Regions from separate parts of the Homo sapiens genome. Here regions 1 and 2 are each linked to region 3. Evidence: promoter capture Hi-C in 16 types of primary human blood cells and fetal thymus (Javierre and others, 2016). All regions are on one chromosome and are shown on one strand. Each heading gives the region's core, a stretch centred on a gene start or on the middle of the fragment in contact. The rest is flanking DNA. Distances are from core to core; before and after follow the strand shown. Region 1 holds the start of LIPT2 (lipoyl(octanoyl) transferase 2). Region 2 overlaps PPME1 (protein phosphatase methylesterase 1). Region 3 holds the start of FAM168A (family with sequence similarity 168 member A).

Evidence for each region. The method cuts DNA at HindIII sites, captures the fragments that hold promoters and counts their contacts. A CHiCAGO score of 5 or more calls a contact.
Region 1: the fragment with the promoter of LIPT2 here is called in contact with the fragment with the promoter of FAM168A in region 3 in 1 of 17 cell types (naive CD8 T cells); the score reaches 6.4 in naive CD8 T cells.
Region 2: a contact is called between a fragment that was not itself captured here and the fragment with the promoter of FAM168A in region 3, in 1 of 17 cell types (non-activated CD4 T cells). The highest score is 5.1, in non-activated CD4 T cells.

What each region holds. Positions count from the first base shown.
Region 1 is chr11:74,492,187-74,496,907 of GRCh38, reverse strand. It overlaps LIPT2 (lipoyl(octanoyl) transferase 2), which reads left to right and starts at 3,184. Exons shown (of 2, transcript NM_001144869.3): 1 at 3,184-3,670; 2 at 4,544-4,721. The coding sequence starts at 3,205. LIPT2-AS1 (LIPT2 antisense RNA 1) reads right to left here and starts at 3,528. Exons shown (of 2, transcript NR_171028.1): 1 at 2,935-3,528; 2 at 1-259. RefSeq lists silencers at 2,949-3,198, 3,309-3,418. The HindIII fragment of the contact is 1,360 bases long and covers 2,932-4,291 here.
Region 2 is chr11:74,172,844-74,177,347 of GRCh38, reverse strand. The region is part of intron 1 of PPME1 (protein phosphatase methylesterase 1); the gene reads right to left. Among named protein-coding and RNA genes, the nearest start is that of PPME1, 3.8 kb to the right of the region's middle. The HindIII fragment of the contact is 790 bases long and covers 2,317-3,106 here.
Region 3 is chr11:73,596,579-73,601,299 of GRCh38, reverse strand. FAM168A (family with sequence similarity 168 member A) reads left to right here and starts at 3,188. Exons shown (of 8, transcript NM_015159.3): 1 at 3,188-3,377. RefSeq lists silencers at 2,745-2,974, 3,105-3,234 and an enhancer at 3,126-3,854. The HindIII fragment of the contact is 4,267 bases long and covers 1-3,966 here.

The sequences.
Region 1 (4,721 bases), core at 1,935-4,434, 900 kb before region 3:
ATGCCATTTAATTACTTTTTGTGGGAATGCATGGGGAAATCCAGGTGTGAGCAGAAAAACTGCAGCAGAAGAGAGCTGGGGGGGTCTTTTTTCCCACTGGGGATGTTGCATGAACTGGGTGTTGTGCACCTGTGTTTTGACTGCAACTCACATAAGGTCAGGTATGAAATTTTCCATTTGTGGCATAATGTCAGCACTCAAAAAGTTTAGGATTTTGGAGCATTTCAGATTTCAGATTTTTATATTACGGATGCTCAGCCTGTATTGGTAGAGGAATAAACACATAGATCAATGGAACAGAATACAGAAACTGGAAATAGGATCACACGAATATGTCCAACTGGTTTTGACAAAGGCATAAAAGCAATTCAATGGAGGAAACATAGCCTTTTGAACAAATGGTGTTGGCGTAATGTAACATGTATATGCAAACAAACAAAAAAGAACAACCGCAACAACAACCAAAGTTTTACACCTATTTTAAAAATTAACTCCCATTTTGTAGGTTGCCTGTTCACTCTGATGGTAGTTTCTTTTGCTGTGCAGAAGCTCTTTAGTTTAACTAGATCCCATTTGTCAATTTTGTGGGGGGGGGGAGGGATAGCATTAGGAGATATACCTAATGCTAAATGACGAGTTAATGGGTGCAGCACACCAGCATGGCACATGTATACATATGTAACTAACCTGCACATTGTGCACATGTACCCTAAAACTTAAAGTATAATAATAATAAATAAAAAATTAACTCAAAATGTATCATAGACTTAAATGTAAAATAAAAAATCTTTAAAAAAATAGGCAGTAGAATGTCTTCAGGATCTAGGGCTGGGCAAAGAGTTATTAAACCAAAAGCATCAATAAAAGGAAAAGTGGATAAATTGGACCTTATCACAATGACAAACTTTTGCTCTGCAAAAGATACGGTTAAGAGGATGAAAATACAAGCCATACACTGTGAGAAACTGTTTACAAAGCACATATTTGACAAAGGGCTAATATCTAGAATATATAAAGATATCTCAAAACTCAACAGTACGAAAAACAATTAATTAGAAAATGGGCAAAAGACATGAACAGACATTTCACTGAAGGGAATATACACATGGAAGATAAGCACATGAAAAGATGTCTTACATCATTAGTCAATAGGGAAATACAAATTAAAATCACAATAAGACACCACCACACACCTATTAGAATGGCTAAAATAAAAGCTAATGCTCATGAGGATGCAGACAAACTTGATCATTCATACACTGGTGGTGGGTATGTAAAATGGTACAGCCGCTCTGGAAAGCATTTTGGCAGTTTCTTAAAAAACGAAACATGTAACTACCATGCAACCCAGCAACTGCACTCCTGGGCATTTATTCCGGAGAGATGAAAACTTAGTTCACACAAAAACCTGTACACAAATGTTTACAGTACCTTTACTCAGAATATCTGAAAACTGGAAACAACCCAGGTGTTCTTCAGTGAGTGAATGGCTAAACAAACTGTGGTACATTCATACTATGGACTACTACTCATCAATAAAAAGAAACGCGCTATTGATACATGCAACAACTTGGATGAGTCTCCAGATAATTATGCTGAGTGAAAAAAAAATTCTAAAAGGTTGCACTCTGTATGATTCCATCTATACAACACAGACGTTTGCCAGGAATTAAGAAGCAGTGTAACTACAAAGAGCAACATGAGGGATCCTTGTGGTGATGAAAATGTTCTGCATCTTGACTTTATCAATGTCAGTATCCTGGTTGTGATATTGTACTACAGTTTTGCAAGGTGTTTCCATTGGGGGAAGCTGGGTAAAGGGTACATATAATCTGTCCATATTATTCCTTACAACTGCATATGAGTGTCCAATTTTCTCAAATAAAACATTTAATTAAAATAGTACATATGTGATTTCTCTTGTCCAAACCCTGATTGATAATTTGAACCCTTCATCAGACTGGAAAATTTCTCTTCTATTCCTAGATTGCTAAGTATTTTGGTCAGAAGAGGTGTTTATTTTTGCCAATAGATTTATCTGTATTTTTTAACATAATCATAGCTTTTCTTTAAAAAAAATTTTTATTATTTCTTCCAATGAAGGCTTTTCTCTTTTAAGGTAAATTACATTGTTTGATTTCAGAATGCAAAACCAACCTTGCATTCCCGGGATAAACCCTACTTCATCATGATGTATTAATCCTTTTATAAATTGCTGGATTTGATTTGCTAATATTTGCTTAGGATCTTTATGTCTATGTTTATGAAATGTTTTTCAGACACCTATGGTGTCTGAAAAGTCCTCAGTAAAAATTCATTGAATTCAGACTTGTTTAAATGATACTCTAACTGCAACATAGCTGATGTTGTGGTCCAGACACCCCCTCAGGGCCTAGACAGTCATTCCCTCAGCTTCTGGAGTTGGTTACTGATGATACACAACTGAGTCCTTCTCTGGGGGCCGCCCTCCACCGAGGGAAGCAGTCTTGCCAAAAAAAAAAAAAAAAAAAAAATCACAGCTCCTCCCCAGGTGTAGCCTGTATCCATGACTGGTCAATGCAAGGATAAGAGTTTCTGGCCCCCTTGCTTTAATGTGGAACTACTCTGAAGGGTCATCCTAGGCTCCAAGCATGCCTTGGGATTGGTCAAGGCCTCTGCTGCAACTGTTTTGCAGGCCAACTTCTTCCTCTGCCTACAAATTCCTGCTTCCTTCACTTTCTTACAGGTGCTGATCTTTAAGTTCTCCCTACCTCCACCAATAACCTTGTAGGCAAGCTAATCTCCCTCTTGCGTCCCCCAGGGGCTCAACACAGGACACACCACGTTACCCTGTTTTATTTTTCTTTTCATAGCATTTAACACCTTATACGTGAAATAACCTTATTTACTTAACACTTAAAATACTTATCGTCTGCTGTAAGAATGTAAGCTTACCAGGACAGATCTTTCTCATACGCTATGCACCGCTGTATCAAGCGCCTATGGCAGGGCCTGCAGAACACAGCAGGCACTAAATACTGGTTGTTGAATGAACCGATGAGTCTGGCCCCGCGCTTTTGGTCCTGGGATCACATATCCCCCCTCCAGCTTTTAACACGCACCTGGGAGCTGCGGCTCGGGGTGTGCCCCCGAGTCCCCGCCCCTCAGGCCACGCCCCCAGGCCCACGGAGAGGGCGGGGCCCCGCGGACGCAACGGTGGGCACGATGCGGCAACCCGCCGTTCGGTTGGTGCGCCTGGGTCGGGTGCCGTACGCCGAGCTACTGGGGCTGCAGGACCGCTGGCTGCGGCGGCTGCAGGCCGAGCCAGGCATTGAGGCCCCGTCGGGGACTGAGGCGGGCGCGCTCCTGCTCTGCGAGCCCGCGGGGCCCGTGTATACGGCCGGGCTGCGCGGCGGCCTGACGCCCGAGGAAACTGCGCGGCTACGGGCCTTGGGCGCCGAGGTGCGCGTCACAGGCCGCGGTGGCCTGGCCACCTTCCACGGCCCGGGCCAGCTGCTTTGCCACCCGGTACTCGACCTGCGGCGTCTCGGCCTGCGCTTGCGCATGCACGTAGCGTCGCTGGAGGCGTGCGCCGTGCGCCTGTGCGAGCTCCAGGGCCTGCAGGACGCCCGCGCGCGGCCCCCGCCCTACACTGGCGTCTGGCTAGACGATCGCAAGATCTGCGCGATCGGTGAGCGCCGCGGAGCAGGGCGGTACCTGAGAGCCGAGGTCGGAGCTTGAGGCCTGGGGGCGGGGTCTGACGGGGCTGGACCAACGGAGGTGAGGGCCGGGAGGAGGCGTATCTAGCGCGGGTTTTGAATCACAGCTACCCGCTGCGTTTGAGTTTTTAAGCCCCTTTTCAGATATCGTATATTCAGAAGCAGAAGGCTCCTCACATCTAGTCCAACACGCATTTCTGTTAAGGGAGAGACAAGAGAAGTGAATTGCCAGGTTACGTCCTGCGAATGACAATGTCATGGCAAATAAGGGTGCTAATTTTCAAACTTTTTTTTTTTTTTTTTTTTGAGACAGAGTCTCGCTTTGTCACCCAGGCTGGAGTGCAGTGGCGCAATCTCGGCCCACTGCAAGCTCCGCCTCCCGGGTTCACGCCATTCTCCTGCCTCAGCCTCCAGAGTAGCTGGGGCTACAGGCGCCCACCACCAGCCCGGCTAATTTTTTGTATTTTTAGTAGAGATGGGGTTTCACCGTGTTAGCCAGGATGGTCACGATCTCCTGACCTCGTGATCCGCCCGCCTCGGCCTCCCAAAATGCTGGGATTACAGGCGTGAGCCACTGCGCCTGTCCCCAAGCTTTTTTTTTTTTAAGTATTGGAATCTGTTAAAAGACATTTCCTGGAATCCTCATGATGAGTGCAGCTGCTTGAAGCCACGCACCCCTTCCTTTCATTTGTTTCCTTTTCCCATCTGAGTACAATCCCTTGTTTCTCCAGAAACAAAATTTGAAAACCGGTGATCTAATCCAGTTTTCTCATCGCCCTGAGAGGGACACCAAAGCCCGGAGAGTGGAGGGTATCTACTCTAAGACCCTTTGGCTTGCCTTGCAGGAGTCCGCTGTGGAAGGCACATCACATCCCACGGCCTGGCTCTCAACTGCTCTACCGACCTCACGTGGTTTGAGCACATCGTGCCCTGTGGACTGGTTGGGACAGGCGTCACTTCCTTGAGTAAGGAGCTCCAGAGGCACGTCACCGTGGAAGAAGTAATGCCACCTTTCCTTGTGGC
Region 2 (4,504 bases), core at 1,462-3,961, 580 kb before region 3:
TGGGACTACAGGCACACACCACCACACCCAGCTAAATTTTTGTGATTTTTGTAGAGAAGAGGTTTCACCATGTTGTCCAGGCTGGTCTCCAACTCCCAAGCTCAAGTGGTCCACATGCCTTGGCCTCCCAAAGTGCTGGGATTACAGGCATGGACCACTGAGCCTGGCCAGGACTATTTCTTTATTGTAGTGAAATTTACGTAATGGGTAAAGGACTAAAAAATTTAATAAATGATGAAAACAACTAGATAGCCTTTGGATAAAAATAAAATGTCTTCTTTTCCTCACTTTGCATATCAAGATAAACTTCAAATGGATTAAAAAAAAATTGGCTCATGCCTGTAATCCCAGCACTTTGGAAGGCTGAGGTGGGTGGATTACCTGGGGCCAGGAGTTCAAGAGCAGCCTGGCCAACATAATGAAACCCCGTCTCTACTAAAAATACAAAAATTAGCTGGGTGTGGTGGTGCATGCCTGTAATCCCAGCTACTTGGGAGGCTGAAGCAGGAGAATCGCCTGAACCCGGGAAGTGGAGGTTGTAGTGGGCCAAGATCACACCACTGCACTCCATCCGGCCTCGGTGACAGAGCAAGACTCTGTCTCAAAAAAAAAAAAAAAAAAAAAAAGGACACTACACAGGTACCAGGAAAAAATATAAATGATTCCTTTATAACCCAAAAAAAGGAAAAGCCTTTCTGTGACTCAAGATCCAGAAGCAATACATGCTGGGAGGAAGGGAAGATGCTAATGAGTAACGAGTTTATGGGAGGATGAAAATGTTCTGCAATTAGTGGTGGTAATTGTACAACTGAGTGAATATACCAAAAATCACTGAATTGTACATTTAAAAGAGTGAATTCTATGGCATATAAATTTAACTTTTTAAAAATCTAATGAAAAAATAAAAAAAAAAACAGAAATACTGGGATTTGATTATTTTAGTAACTCAATTTGTGACCTTGAGCAAATCACTTCACTTTGCCCTTTATTTCCCCATCTGTGTGAATAGCTCATTAAAGCCTTCCTAAGAGGCCTGATATCCATAATAAATTTAAGAAGATGGATGAAAGACTATCTAATCAGATATGAATAAACATACAGCTTGTGGGGACAAAAAAGCTGATAACATAAGAAACTGAAAGGAGAGCTTCCACATAAACTATGAACCTTCTTCACAGTTCTCAATGTATAATTATCTACTAGCTATCATTCTTTAAGAGCTTATGTGTCAGTGTCAGGAACTATAAGTGCTTTTTATGTATTATCTTATTCTCACAGCACTCTCAGGTAAGCAGAAGTATTCTCATTTTAGAGATAAGAAAATAGACTATGAGAAGTTAAATGACTCGACCAATGTAAATACCTAAGTTGGGCTTCAAACTTAGATCTTTGTCACTTCAAATATCAAACCCTTCAATGCAAGCTATAGAAAGAACAATGGACTAAAAATACGAAGTCCTGGGTTTGAATGTTGTTCCTGCCACATAATGATTCTGTGATCTTAGGCAAGTCAATGAACATTTCAGTTTTCTCATTTATTAAAAGAAAATATTAACTCCTGCCCTAGTTTACCTCATAGAATATAAAAAGGGACTACTATATACATGTCAGTTAAATCACTACAGAGCTGGGCATGCTAGCATGTATCCTCAGTCCTACCTACTCAAGAGGATGAAGTGGGAAGACTGCTTGAGCCCACGAGTTTGAGGTTGTAATGCACCAAGATTATGCCTGTGAAAAGCCACTGTACTTCAGCCTGGGCAACACAGCAAGACTCTATCTCTTGCAAAAGAAAAAAAAAGGAATTTAAGAGATAATAATAGAAAAGTAGAACTTTTTTTTTTTTGAGATGGAGTTTCGCTCTTGTTGCCCTGGCTGGAGTGCAATGGCGCGATCTCGGCTCACCACAACCTCCGCCTCCCAGGTTCAAGTGATTCTCCTGCCTCAGCCTCCTGAGTAGCTGGGATTACAGGCATGTGCCACCACGCCAGCTAATTTTGTATTTTTAGGAGAGACGGTGTTTTTCTATGTTGGTCAGGCTGGTCTTGAACTCCCGACCTCAGGTGATCCACCCGCCTCGGCCTCCCAAAGTGCTGAGATTACAGGCATGAGCCACCACACCTGGCCAAAAAGTACAACTACTGATAAACCAAAAACACGTTGAATAATGAATGGCTTTAATATTTTATAGTTCCTCTAATAGTAATAGTATATACGAAAGCAGTGACTTTCAAAAGATACTTCTCTCAAGCACACCAGGGGTGCAAAGCAAATAGGGATCTCAAATCTACTTTAGTCAGAGTAGCTCTAAAAGCTTTAATAAAGAAGTTCAAAACCACTGTTTTTGGCAACATCCATTGGCATCTATTAAAAGGAAGAGTGACACCAGGATTTCAGGCCTTACCCAAGAGAAAATATTAGTGTACTGAAAAGTGAATGGATTCTAGAGACTAAACTTAGATTGAATCCTAGCTCTGCTACCTACTAGTTGGGTTACTTTTAATCTCTGGGTCTGAATGTCTTTACCCACAATGCAGGAAAATATTCACCATGCAGGTCTGTGGACACATTAAATAACATAAAGTTACCATTACAATGTCTGGCACACAGTACTTACTTTAAAAATTGCTATTATTAAATTATCCAACAATACTTTGGAATTACTAAATCTAATCTGAAAAACTGAATTATGGAAACTCATGAAAAATCACCAACTCAGAATATGCACCCTGAATATGCAAACATGCCTAAATAATGTTTAGTGAAATTGAAGGCAAGAGATCATGAAAAATAGTTAAGAGTAAGCCACACAAGAGACTATCAAGAGAACAGGACTAACTTGTGAGTAACATAGATAGAGTGGAAGAATGGAAGTTAAGAAAAAAGCAAGTAAGCATAAGGAGACATAAAGAATGCTTTGAAATTGGTGTGAGACTTCATAAATTACGACTGAAGAAAAAGACTGAATCCTAGATTATATGCAAATGAGTAAGATACACAACTCAAAATAAGTATCCCCAGATGACAATTATGACTCCAAAATACACAATGGGTCTCACAGTCAAGAGACCCAAGTCCTAGTCCTTAACGGCCCTACCGCTAAGCTTCTAGGGTACCTTAGGAATATCTGAGTCTCAGTTCCCTCATTTATTAATACATTCCCTTATAGAATACAGAACTCTCTGAATATTGGGTTCCTCAACTACATGAAGTGGTGAAATGAGACCATGTCTATGCTTTCTCTCAGCTTTATGATTCTAAGGAGAAAGAGAATCTATATTATTACTACCATGAGACTTAGATGAAGCCTGCTTATATACCAATAAAGTAGAAAAGAAAGATACGGGAAAATAAGCCATTTGAGGACCACACAAATATTCGCCAATATATGCTCTTCTCTTCACAATACTATCATAAAGAAAGGCCTTTCTAAAGAACTTTCTTTTCCAGGATAAGCAGTTAACCTAAACCAAGAAGACCAAAGCATCTTTTTAAAAAGGTAAGTTGTCCAGGCACAGTAGCTCACTCCTATAATCCCAGTACTTTGGGAAGCCAAGTGGGGCAGATCACTTAAGGCCAGGAGTTTAAGACCAGCCTGGCCAACATGGCGAAATCCCCTCTCTACTAAAAATACAAAAATTAGCCGGGCGTGGTGGTGCATGCCTGTAATCCCAGCTACTTGGGAGGCTGAGGCACAAGAATCACTTGAGCCCGGGAGGTGGAAGTTGCAGTGAGCCGAGATTGTGCCACTGCACTCTAGCCTGGGCAACAGAGTGAGACTCTGTCTCTAAAAAAAAATAAAATGAAAAGTAATAAAAAATAAAAACGATAAATTACTAACAATTATACAATCTTCTAATCAGCAGATTTTCCTTTTTTTTTCTCTCAGTATCTTCATTCAGTTCTTCAATCTTCAGAGAACTTGTTTCTCCAAGATGAGAAGCTGAGCTCTAATTAAGCTTATCTAAGGAATGTATAATTATTAAAAATCTGATTTTCTTATGTATTTGTATAGAAGGGTGCTGGTATACTGAAAAATCAAATTTATTTTAAGAAAGGCAGCAACTAAGATATTTAACAACAATTAATGTTACATTAATATTAAACTCCAGGTTAGTTTTCCCAAATAATGTTATGGGTCAGTTTCCAAATTCTCTTTATTCATGTTATAGTCCAACTTTTCTGTCTTCCAAAGCCAAAACAATCTTCACTTTACCTTCTATGTAGCCTTCTACCTCTATTGTGCGTCTATCTCTCTATCTCCTCCTGCTAAAGTTTTCTCATTTTTCTACTGCGTATCATAGCAGGTCTCCACTCAATTCTTAGTTTCCTTCCCTGGTTTTTCCACCCATTTTTCCCATTCCTTTACCCCACTGTTTTATAGGATTCTCCTTTCTTTTCATCCCTAGGACTTACTGTCACAGTACTGCATCTCCTACTCTCGCCTCCTTTTTGATAAGTTTTTACACATATTACTTCTTCAGAACCTAAGGTTTCTCTTCTG
Region 3 (4,721 bases), core at 1,939-4,438:
AGTTTGAAAAAGAGAGTGCCTGATGTATTTGGGGAAAGTGAGTCCTGAGGGACAGGAGTCTAACTAGAGTGAGGTGGGGTGAAGCTAGAGACGCTGCAGCGGGATGGGGACTAAGTCATCCTCTGAGCTAAGCAACCTGGGCTTTTTCCTGTAGGCCTGTAGCAGAGCTAAAGTGTCCTAGTTGTTCTTACAGAACACCAAGGAACAATGGCATATAAAATTGAAAATATCAAATTCTGCTGGGCGCAGTGGCTCATGCCTGTAATCTCAGTACTTTGGGAGGCCGAGGTGGGCAGATCACTTGAGTCCAGGACTTTGAGACCACCTTGGGCAACATGGCGAAACCCTGTCTCTATAAGAAAAAAAAAGAAAAAAGAAAAATTAGCCGGGCATGGTGGTGCCTGTAGTCCCCGCTACTTGGGAGGCTGAGGTGGGAGGATCACATGAGCCCAGGGAGTCGCTGCGGCAGTGAGCTGTGATCATGCCACTGAACTCCAGCCTGGGCGACAGAGCGAGACTCTGTCTCAAAAAATGAAAAAAGAGAAGAAAATATCAAGTCAAACAGGGCTTAAATGAAAAAAATCGTGAAATCAAAAATAATCTGATACTACATTCTGTATTCTAGAAGAGCTGGACACAAGGGTCAGAAGAAGAGAAAAACTTTTTTAAAGTGCAAGACATATAGCTTTGTGTAGGCAGAGCTGCATAGGCCCTTTACAATAACTCTGTACCTCTCTCTTCACTTCCTCTCCCCACCGTGATCTCTGGCCAACAGATTAGAAACCACTGCTATAAGAATTCAGATAAGCCGGGAGCGGTGGCTCACGCCTGTAATCCCAGCACTTTGGGAGGCCGAGGCAGGCGGATTACCTGAGGTCAGGAGTTCAAGACCAGCCTGGCCAACATGGTGAAACCCCATCTCTACTAAAAATACAAAAAAAAATTAGCCAGGCATGGTGGCACATGCCTGTAATCCCAGCTACTCGGAAGGATGAGGCAGGAGAATTGCTTGAGCCCGGGAGACGGAGGTTGCAGTGAGCCGAGATTGCACCACTGTACTCCAGCCTGGCTGACAGAGCAAGACTCTGTCTCAAACAAACAAACAAACAAACAAACAAACAAAAAAGAATTCAGATATAAGGAAAACCAGTGTGTCTAAAATATGTTCTAGGGAAGGTAGGACTTTGGCTTGAGTTTGAAGAATGAGTAAGAGAAAAGGAGAAAATGGGTGTGGAAAGACCAGAAATGGAAAAATTTTGAGAAGACGCATTGAAAATTGAGAAAATTCTCCCTTCCAACTTTATGAATTGGAAGTGACTACTATTATTTGTTTTAATAGTGGAACTATTAAAACCAGGCAGGCACAGTGCTGAAGCATGAATGAGACAATGGGAAGCCATGGAAAGCATCTAGGCAGCAAAGAAAGGTTGTTAGATTTGGAAATTATGTTTTTTGGAAGTAGCACAGCTTAAAAAATTGTCCAGGTGTAGTGTGGCTCACACCTGTAATCCCAGCACTTTTGAGAGCTGAGGCAGGAGGGTCTCTTGAGGCCAGGAGTTTGAAACCAGCCTGGGCAATATAGTGAGACGACGTCTCTTACAATTAAAACAAAACAAAAAAGAAAACAAAAAACAGTCGTTATGTGCTCCTTTTAAACAATTCAAACAATATGAAAACAAAAATTACAGTCGGGCATTGTGGCTCATGCCTGTAATCCCAGCACTTTGGGAGGCTGAGGCGGGCAGGTCAGGAGGTCAAGAAATCGAGACCATCCTGGCCAATATAGTGAAACCCCATCTCTACTAAAAATACAAAAATTAGCTGGATGTGGTGGCGCGCGCCTGTAGTCCCAGCTACTCAGGAGGCTGAGGCAGGAGAATCGCTTGAACCCGGGAGGCAGAGGTTGCAGTGACCTGCGATCGCCCCCACTTTACTCCAGCCTGGCTATAGATCCAGACTCCGTCTCAAAAAACAAAAAAAACCTACGTGCAATCTGACACCCTTTCCCCCAAGATAATCATTGCTAATATTTTGGCGAACCTCTTTCCTGAAATCTCTCCATGCTTGTAGAATATTGTGTCAAACCTCACATAAATGCACTCGTGTAGACATGCTGTTGTGTAATCAACTTTTTCCCCGAAGAATAAATTGTGAATAGCTTTTCATGTCAATAGATTTATATCATTTTAAATGGCTCCTTAGTATTGCATTGTATGTATATGTCACGTCTTATTTAAGCAGCACCCTATCGATGAACATTTACTCCCTTCATAATTAACTACGTCATATAACAACTTTGTGCATTCATCTTTTCGAAATTGTTCGATCATCTTTTTAAGGTAAATTCTTAAAAGTAATGGAGCTGGGTCAAGAAGAGGATATGCCCTTTGTCGTTTGGATTCAAGTTGCCGAATCGTCCTCAAATTTGCAGGGAGACCAGCGAGGAAGCTCCGGCATTAGTTCTGGTGAGAGACAGCTGAAACGGAGATGGCGAGGGATGAACAGAATCACAGGTGATCTAGCCCATCAAGGCCCATCCTCGGTGGGCTGGCGTATTCCTTCCCTTTTGCCTCTCTTTCACTTCTTTTTCTTAACATGGAGGAAGAACCGAGAACTCCATCTCCCAGCATTTCGCAGGGACCACACTCCCTGGGAACTGTAGTACCGGGTCTGAGAAGGGTCCGGAAGGAGAATAGGAAGCTGAGGGGCATGCTGGGAGGTGTAGTCCAGAGACAGAGACGAGAGGGAGAGGGAGAGAGGGAGAGAGGGAGAGAGGGAGAGACAGAGAGTGTGTGTGTGTGTGTGGGCGGGGGGAGGGGGGTGTCTATGCAAAGAGGATGGAGACGCTGCGAGTACGGCCCCTTGGGGATGGGGCCTCGGGCGACCTGACTTTCCTCACAGGTGGTCTTTGAGTCTACAAAATTCGCCAGCGGATGGTTGGCTTTATTCCACTGTCCGTGACCGGAGAGGGCGCGGCCCCTCTGCACCGGGCTCGCGGCGGGAGGCGCAGGCCGCGCGCGGGCTAAAGCAGGGCATGCCGGGAGTTGTGGTCCCGGCGCTCTGAGGCTGTGGGACGTGTCGCGGCGCCGCGCCGGCTCCTCCTTCCCTGCCCTTCTGAGCGGTCCCCCGCCTCCTCCCTCCGCCTCCTCCTCCCTCGCCCGCAGCCGAGCGTCCCCTCCCCCCACCCGTCGGGCTCCTCGGCGGCTACTGCAGAGGATTCAGAGCCGAGTCGCTGAGGAGGAGGCTCCGGTCCCCGCGCGCCATCCGCCACCCTACTGGACACGGGCGAGAGCGTCGCCGCCGTAGCCTCCGGAGAAGACAAGGGCATCGCCGCCTCAGCCGCCGCCGCCGCCGTTTTCGCCTGCAGCTGCTCACCGGTGAGGAGACTCCCCCCGCCACAGGGTCCGCTGGTCCTGAGTCTGGGCCGGTGGCGCTGGCGAGAATGAGAGGGGAGGCTGCGGAGCCCCCGTGCAGGTTGGGGGGAGGGGGTTGAGGTCGCGATGGAACGGCGGGCTGGCGGGGGAGACTTGTCCAGGCGCTGGCCGGGGGTGGGGTGAGGGTGGGACCCAAGCAGGTTGGGGGGCGGGCGACAAGGGAGGAGGACTTTTGATGGAGAATAACCCAACCTGGGACAGGAGAGTGGGGTGGGGGCGTCGGGTTGGAATTCGGGATGGTCTTGGGGCGAGGTGGAAGATGAGACTAGGGTGGGATGGCTTTTAATGGGGGAGGGGACTGAATGAGGGTGGTGATTTGGGTTTGGCCTGGAGCAGTTGACAGCTTGGGATCTGAGCTGGGGTGAGGGGCAGGGGAATGATTTCAACGGAGAGTGAGTGGCATGTACAGGGTTGGTTAGGGCCCTGCGTAGTGTTAATTCAGAAGGGTGGAATTTGGGGTGGACCTGGGGCAGGATGATGGAGGTGGCAGGAGTTGGGGGTGAGGGGCTTGGCATGGGTTGAGACCCAAGCTTGAAGTGGGTGTTTGTCATCTGGGGCTGGTGGAATTTGTGGAGACTTATGGAATAGCATGGGTTAGGATAGAGCAGAAGAGTGCAATTTGGGGGTTTCCTGGGGTGGGCTGATGGAGGTTGGAATAGGAGTTGGTGGAGGTGGGACATTCAGTGAGGGGAGTGTGATGGTGAGCTGGCAGGAAGGGGCCACATTGGAAGTCAGGCCCGAAATGGGAGGACAGGGATGGAAATGGAGTGTGGGGCACAGTGGGTTGGATTTAGGGTGATCTTACAATCACTGGAAAGGGCATGGTGGCTCCTTGGTTGCAGAGTCAAGGCAGAGGGCACATAAAACATCACTGGGCTGCTTTCATTGAAAGGATAGCGGCAGGGGTGAGCAAAGTTGGGGGATGGTATCTTGAAGAAAATATCCCTTGGCCAAGGTGGCAGAGGGAGTTTTGGAGAAGGACTTTCGGAGATGAGCTGGTAGGCCTGGGGAGGTGGTTGCTGATGGTGAGGTGGCACAGGGGAAATTTAAGGAATGGGAGACCTGGAGCTGTTGGTATGGATGGGGCAGAGAGGATGGAGAGGGACAGTGAGCTGTGCTGGAGAGCAGGGGGGAATTGGGTTGGATTATTTTGGTGGTGAAGGATTGGGGTGGCCTCCAAGAGACACATGAGGGTTAAGGGTTGGAATACTTAAATGAACAGCCTTGGTGGCTGTGGTTGGGTGAGAGGCAGTAAGGCTGTTAGAGGGGACTTTGCAGGGGACACGG